Regions from separate parts of the Homo sapiens genome. Here region 1 is linked to region 2. Evidence: promoter capture Hi-C in 16 types of primary human blood cells and fetal thymus (Javierre and others, 2016). All regions are on one chromosome and are shown on one strand. The core of a region is centred on a gene start or on the middle of the fragment in contact, and the rest is flanking DNA. Distances in the headings are between cores, read along the strand shown. Region 1 overlaps LOC124906110 (a long non-coding RNA gene). Region 2 holds the start of OSGEPL1-AS1 (OSGEPL1 antisense RNA 1).

Region 1 (3,662 bases), core at 1,102-3,601, 1.1 Mb after region 2:
TGAATATCTCTTGTCATTTTATATGATGTCACAATGAACAGAGGTATACTTTCATTTACATAGATGGCAAATGATATATTTTTAGATTTAATTGCTATATGTTAAGGTATTTGTATATGACATGTATATTCAAGGACTGCTTTCTTAGCGATTCTTCCTTCTCTGGAATTTTTTTTTTTTTTTAGCTATTTGTGAATAGCTGTTACTTTGGGCACTGAGCCCAGCTTTTCTTAATCTGACTGTCTTTATCTTTTTCTATTTTAAGATACTTTGAAAATTATTGGTTTATTTTCTAAAAATGAAGTAAGTAAATTATCTCTAGGTTCCCCTTAAATGGTATTTTATTATTAGATGGTTTAAAACAATTGTTTGGCTTTTCAACAATAAGTGTAAAAACTGATCACATTGCATGTCAAAATTTATTCACCTATGGTTTGATAATAACAGCTATAACACTTACAGAGTGCTACTGTCATTATTCTGGGTGCTTTATATGTGTTGTTTATTTATTCCACACAACAACCCTATAAGTACCAATATTATCCGCCCCCCTTTGTTTTTTTGAGATGGAGTCTTGCTCTCTCATAGCCCAGGCTGGAGTGCAATGGCTAGATCTCGGCTCACTGCAACCTCTGCCTCCCAGGTTCAAGCAATTCTCCTGCCTCAGCCTCCCGAGTAGCTGGGATTACAGGCATGCACCACCATGCCTGGCTAATTTTTTGAATTTCTAGTAGAGATGGGGTTTCACCATGTTGGCCAGGCTGGTCTTGAACTCCTGACCTCAGGTGATCCACCTGCTTCGGCCTCCCAAAGTGCTGGGATTACAGGCGTGAGCCACCTTGCCTGGCCATATTATCCCCTTTTTATAGATGAGGGATTTACCATACTTACTTTGGTACACATCTATATTCAGTATTGGAAAAATAAGCCATGTTTGGCAGGGCTTATCAGTGAGGCTAGGAATTTGGCCAGTTAAAGCAGGAAACCAACAGAAGAAAGGGAAGTAGTAGCAGAAGCTTGTTTAGAGGCTTCCTGAACCTTACTCTATTCTCCAAACAGAAGAATTTCAAAAAAAGGCTTAGGCAATTCTTTTAAGCTGTTAGTCAAAGGAAAATTACTTTCTTTTTAGTTCTAGGTCAACAAATAATCTACTAGTTTTTGTGAAGGCGCAATCTGGAATTTCTATATATATATATTATTTTATCTTATTTTATTTTATTTTTTGAGATGTAGTATCGCTCTGTTGCCAGGCTGGAGTGCAGTGGTGCGATCTTGGCTCACTGTAACCTCGGCCTCCCAGGTTTGAGTGATTCTCCTGCCTCAGCCTCCCAAGTAGCTGGGATTACAGGTGTGTGCCACCACGCCCAGCTAATCGTTGTATTTTTAGTAGAGATGGGGTTTAACCGTGTTAGCCAGGATGGTCTCAATCTCCTGACCTTGTGATCTGCTCGCCTCAGCCTCCCAAAGTGCTGGGATTACAGGTGTGAGTCCACCGCGCCCGGCCTATATATGGATTTTATTATGATCTTGAAACATTAGCCTTTTGTAATCTTCGACAGAACAAAGAAGCTCAGGAACATAGAAGCACAGGAACCTTTCTTCAAGTTAGAACAGACACAAAGTGCACAAATTCCAATTATTCCTTTTGATGGCTGATTACCTGATGATGGCTATGGGACAGCAACTCTTTGTAGTGTAGCTGCACTTAGGAGCAAAAAGGAAGTCGAAGAGTAGATCTGACAACCCAACCATAGTTAATGTGGAGAGCATTTTTCTATTTGTAGATATTTTGGTGGACTACTTATTGTATGTATACAAATGTTTTTATACTTTTTACATGATGATTACATGAGTTTATGTAATGATATAATTCAATTTAACATAACTGAAACTTCAAAGTTGTGTAATGGTTACAAAGTTGTAGATAAAAATATCTTTAAAGATTAAAAAATTATATAAGATGAAGAAAAGAATCAAATGAAAGTATTGAGTCACATTTTTATTCTATTTATAATAGTTTCTTTGCTGTCTATAACCTTTTCATTAGCCTTCTCAAACAAGGGGTTAAATTTCAGTGGACTCAATTCTTCCAAATTTTGGGAGTAATATCTATCCATTCTCACCAAAAGCAGAAAGTCTGGAAACTACCAGAAAATAAAACTCTAGAAACTAGAAACTCTAGAAAATAATCTGTTACTAGGTTAGCTTTCTTATTTGTTAAGTGAACTATAAAGCCTTTAAACCTTTAAATATCTAAAACAATTTTCATAAGAAACTCAGAGAAATTAAGGGAGAAACTGAGAGGAAAACAGTAACTGGATTGTCAGTTGCTTTGTGTTGTTGAGAAAAAAGAGGCAGTTAAAATTGATAACTAATTGCAGCTAATATATTGGACAATATTAAAGTCTGCAAGTCATTAACAAGTCAGGGTTAGGCAGGGGTAATATTTGTTACCTTTCCTCTGAAACTTGATGTCTCTATTCCTGAATATATCATTACTTTGATTCATCAACATTTTTGGACAAGTAACATTAGTAATAAAAGCTATCTAAGTACTTTCCCATTGTCCTGCTTTTTTTTTTTTAAATAAAAAAGGTGACTATGTTTTACACATGATAGTTTTTTCCATGTTCTTCTGGTTAAAGAGCAGATAGAAAAAAAAAACTTAAAACACGGCAAGGCTGTAACATGCCAAAGGTCACATAACCTGTAGGTACAGCCAGATTTCCTAATTATTAATCTATTGAAATATTTTACAGTTCACTAGATTACTAAATCCGGTTATCAATTAATGATGCACCTGACATACACCCTTCTAGTTTCATAAAAATCACCTCATTAGGCCGGGCGTGGTGGCTCACGCCTGTAATCCCAGCAATTTGGGAGGCCCAGGGGGTGCAGATCCCTCGAAACCAGCCTGGGCAACCTGGCGAAACCCCGTCTCTACCAAAAATACAAAAAAAAAAAAAAAAAAAAGCAGGTGCTGGCTGAGGTGGGAGGATCACCGGGGCCCCTGAGTTCAAGGCTGCAGTAAGCCGTGATCGCGCCACTGCACTTCAGCCTGGGCGACAGAGTGAGACCCTTTCTCAAAACGAACACACACAACAACACAGTAACAACACACCAACCCCCAAAACATCTTATTAAACTCTGTGGATCTACTCCATTTAAACCTAATTGTTTCAGGAAATAGTCTAAAAACATTTTTTTGTCCTGGAATGTAATGTGTATGTAGCCTCAGGGAATAACTCAGTTTATCAGGTTCTTGGCTGTTTTTCCACAGGTCCAAAAGGATAAATGGATAAAGTGATGCTGAAATAACTTAGAGAACCCGTATTCCAACGCTTCTATTTTAAAACAGTGAAGCAGTTTTTAAAATAGAAAAGTATCTACAGTTTTGCTTTCAAGCAAATAGCGTTAACGGAATCATTGCTATTCAAAACTATTTTTGAAGTATCGGTGTACATTTAAAAAAAATAATTTTTAAAAAAGAAAGCTGTCGTATTCTGGATTCCGCAACCCCCCCACCCCGCCTCGCCACTCGTCGCCCTCCCTCCACCTCCACCCTCCCATGGCTTAAGTCGCATAGCTGAAAGGATTTTGCTCATTTTTTCCAAAACACTTCACGTCTGGGTAGTAGCCAATCATGGAAAGTTTCAAGC
Region 2 (3,423 bases), core at 492-2,991:
TACTAATACAAGTTATATGTATAAATATGAATAGGATTTTTTTTTTCAATGACTAACAGTTTTCCTAGGACTTCAGCTGAGACCATGAAACATAGAAGTGGAGAAAAGAAGGAATGCATTACTGAAGGAAAATCAATAAATACGGAAGCTGGGAATGAGCTCAGTTTCTTTTGGCAACAGGATTAGTTAAGGTTGGGACCTTATTGTGAAGACCCTTAAAAGCCAGGATGAAGTGTTTGAGGTTTTCTATAGCAGTTATTAAAAGTGTTTGCAAAAAGGAATAAGACAGTAGCTCCTGAAAACTTTTATATATGACAAATACAAAAGAATGATTTTACTTTTTCCAAAAAAGTGGAAATGACTAAGATAATGTCTACTTACTTTAAATGAACTTCAGTTTGGGAATGTATTGCTTCTCCCAACACATTTCCAGTTTCATCCACCACAGCAGCTGCTGTATCATCACAACTAGTTTCAATTCCCAATACTATTTTATGAAGAAATAGTGTTCCAGGATGAAAATTAAAACTTCTTAAAAATTCATAAACTTTCCTTTTTGATGGTTTAAAAAAAACTCCTGCAGTCTTAGTCAAGATTAGCATACTTACTCTATAGATAATTCCTGAAAAAGAATTACAGAAACAACTTATTATTTGCAACTGACATTAGCCAGCTTATTTTTCAATATATAGTTTTACAGAATTACAGGAAAGTTTGTAAAAGTCACCAAAAGTTTGTAAAGGCTATAGCAACATGGGAATATAAATAATATTATGAATGAATATAATGTTCTCCAAGGGGGAAAACAGGGGTCAGATATAAAATTTTTTAGTATTATTATTACTTGCATGCTGTTCCTACCAAAAGACTTACTATTAAGACAGCTAATATAAAGTACAATAATTGATAGAGTCCTCTGAAAAGTGCTATTTATTTTTTGACAGCTAAAATTAAGACAAAATGTGGATTTTCTAAAAAGAATCAAACAACAAAGGCAGATGGAACAGATAAAAATACTGTTAATGTATTCCATCTCCTAAAAACATCTTTCAAAATAAAACTGGATCATTTGGTTCAAAAACAAGAGTTAACATAAACACACACACGCCAACTGCAACCTAACACCTATTTTATCCTTAATTGCAATCTTTGGAATTAAATCTCCACTTTTTGCTACAGGTTTTGTCATAACAAGGATCTTCCCAAATCCTTTTCCCCCAAAATAATAGCAGCCCATCACTAAAGCACACTAGTATTTTCACACTGCGAAGCACCTAATTTTATGCCCCCAGATCATCCGTTCTAAAACTTTCTGGGTGTTAAAGCAGGGCCTTTCTCCACCACACTAAAGGGACACGGCATCCCAGGGATTAGAGATGAGCGACCTATTTGCAGAAGGCAGTTGCGGGCAGTGCAGCCCAGACAGACACAACCTAGAGGAATTAGATTTGCATTAACAAAATCTGGACAAGGAGGATTGTACGAAGCACTACCCTTTCGGGCCAAGAAAGCTGCAGGCTGAACCCACGTGACTTGGGTAGCGCTGGTCTCCTGTCGGCTGTAAGGCGGCGACGGGCGCAAACTGGAACCGCTTTTCCAGGTGCGCAAAAGCGTCAGTGGGGTGAAGAGTGAGCAATTTCACCCACCTTCCACTTGGGCGGCAGTAGCTAGCACTTGTCTCCTTTCCCTACTAAAGACTGTCGACTGCCCTTATCGCTGCAGGAGAAAGCCCGAACCTGGCGCCCGGAAGTGATGTCATCGGAACTGTGCAAGGTCCCGTCCAGAGCTGGCTGCTGTTCCGCTAGCGAGCGGCATGCTTAGTGAAGAAAAGCTTAAAGGCCGTCTTTGCCCAAAACGCTCTCTGTGCGCACCTGCATTTCCCCCAGATTTGCAGGTGATGAGAGTTCTGTAAAATTACACAGCTAGTGACTGATCCAGCGGAGGCCGAATACAGGTTTGTCTGACTACACAACATCAAGTTCCAAACACTAAGCTACATTAAAAAGAAATTTTTTTTTTGCCCTTGGCTGGAATTTGGTTGCTACTGTGAGAAAAGGATGGGGTAGATTATTCGTCATTCATTTTTAAGGGAACTATCATCAAATCTAAACTTAGGGGTGAGGTACCTGATACTTTCATCGGAGAAATAGGATGGAATCTAGCGGCGCCCCCTAGCAGGGTTACCAAAGAACGGAAGTGTTTCTCATCGGACAGTGTAAACCGTTTCTCCCACTTCACTAGGAAGAAAGGGGCTGGCTTATTTTTACAATTAAAAAAAAAAAAAATCGGGAGACTGAGGCAGGAGAACTGCTTGAACTGGGACCCGGGAGGCGGAGGTAGCAGTGAGCCGAGATCGCGCCACTGCACTCCAGCCTGAGCTACAGAGCGAGACTCTGTCTCAAAAAAAAAAAAAAAAAAAAAAAAAAGGCTGTGGTAAATATTCAGTTGCCTTAAACCATCCTATTTTCATAATGCATTATGTTGTCCTTCCTTACTATGTACATGAAATTCAGCATGGTATGTTTTCAAAGTCTTGCACCTGCTTTTTTTTTTTTTTTTCTTTTATTGGTTTGTGAACTTTGTTTTGAACATTGGACAGATTTATTCCAAGAGTCAGGCTTTTCCCCTGCTGGTATTTAAGATTTTAGTAAGCAAGGACCTTAGAATCCACTGTTGTACAGGGCTGGCATATATACCTGCACTTTGCACGTTGTGAAGCTCTGGGTATAAAAGATGAGTAAATCCCATAACAACATGTTGGGAAGCCACAGAGTACAGTCTAGAGGTGGATACAGATAAATAAGTAAATAATTACCAGAATATGGTTGAGGTTTTTTATTTGGAACTTATGTTTTTCAAAAATTTCATTTATGTGTAACAATAATGATAAAGTGGCACTATGTACCAGGCACCTGCTGTAGATTAATTTCTTTCAAAATCCCATGAAATAGTTTCTGTCCTCATTTTACAGGCAACTGGGCCACAGAGTTTGGGTGCTTTGGAGGTCACACAACTAGGAAAAGCAAAGCTAGGATTAGAAGTCAGGACATCTGGCACTGGAGTCTGTTTTCTTAACTGCTAGAAGAGAAAATAACTCACATTTTCTCTAGGGTGCACTGTTGGCCTAAACAAGGGAAAAAAGAAAAATTAAAACCTAAAAGTTAAGAAAAATTAGTCATACGGTTAGAGAGGTCAGAGCTTATTTCTGTTATACACTGGAATCCAGTTTGAACATAAAACCTTTCACATCAGGTATTATTTTTCTTACAATTCCAATTATGTTCAGCAAGTATATCCCAATGCTCTTCTGTGCTGTCAAGACAAGCAAGATCCTATTGTGTGTGCTATCATTGGTAGATTCCTCGTCTAGGCACTCTTGGCCAGTGTTGAGTCCGAATGCTGTTATTATGTGAAACAGGAGAA

What was found. The method cuts DNA at HindIII sites, captures the fragments that hold promoters and counts their contacts. A CHiCAGO score of 5 or more calls a contact.
Region 1: a fragment that was not itself captured here is called in contact with the fragment with the promoter of OSGEPL1-AS1 in region 2 in 1 of 17 cell types (total B cells); the score reaches 7.2 in total B cells.

What each region holds. Positions count from the first base shown.
Region 1 is chr2:190,876,623-190,880,284 of GRCh38, forward strand. It overlaps LOC124906110 (a long non-coding RNA gene), which reads right to left. Exons shown (of 2, transcript XR_007087791.1): 2 at 1-3,662. Among named protein-coding and RNA genes, the nearest start is that of GLS, 2.4 kb to the right of the region's middle. RefSeq lists an enhancer at 3,587-3,662. The HindIII fragment of the contact is 2,674 bases long and covers 1,015-3,662 here.
Region 2 is chr2:189,761,039-189,764,461 of GRCh38, forward strand. OSGEPL1-AS1 (OSGEPL1 antisense RNA 1) reads left to right here and starts at 1,742. Exons shown (of 2, transcript NR_102429.1): 1 at 1,742-1,954. OSGEPL1 (O-sialoglycoprotein endopeptidase like 1) reads right to left here and starts at 1,754. Exons shown (of 9, transcript NM_022353.3): 1 at 1,647-1,754; 2 at 382-622. The coding sequence starts at 602. It also overlaps a transcript of ANKAR not described here and a transcript of ORMDL1 not described here. RefSeq lists enhancers at 1,237-1,396, 1,683-2,429. The HindIII fragment of the contact is 3,776 bases long and covers 1-1,829 here.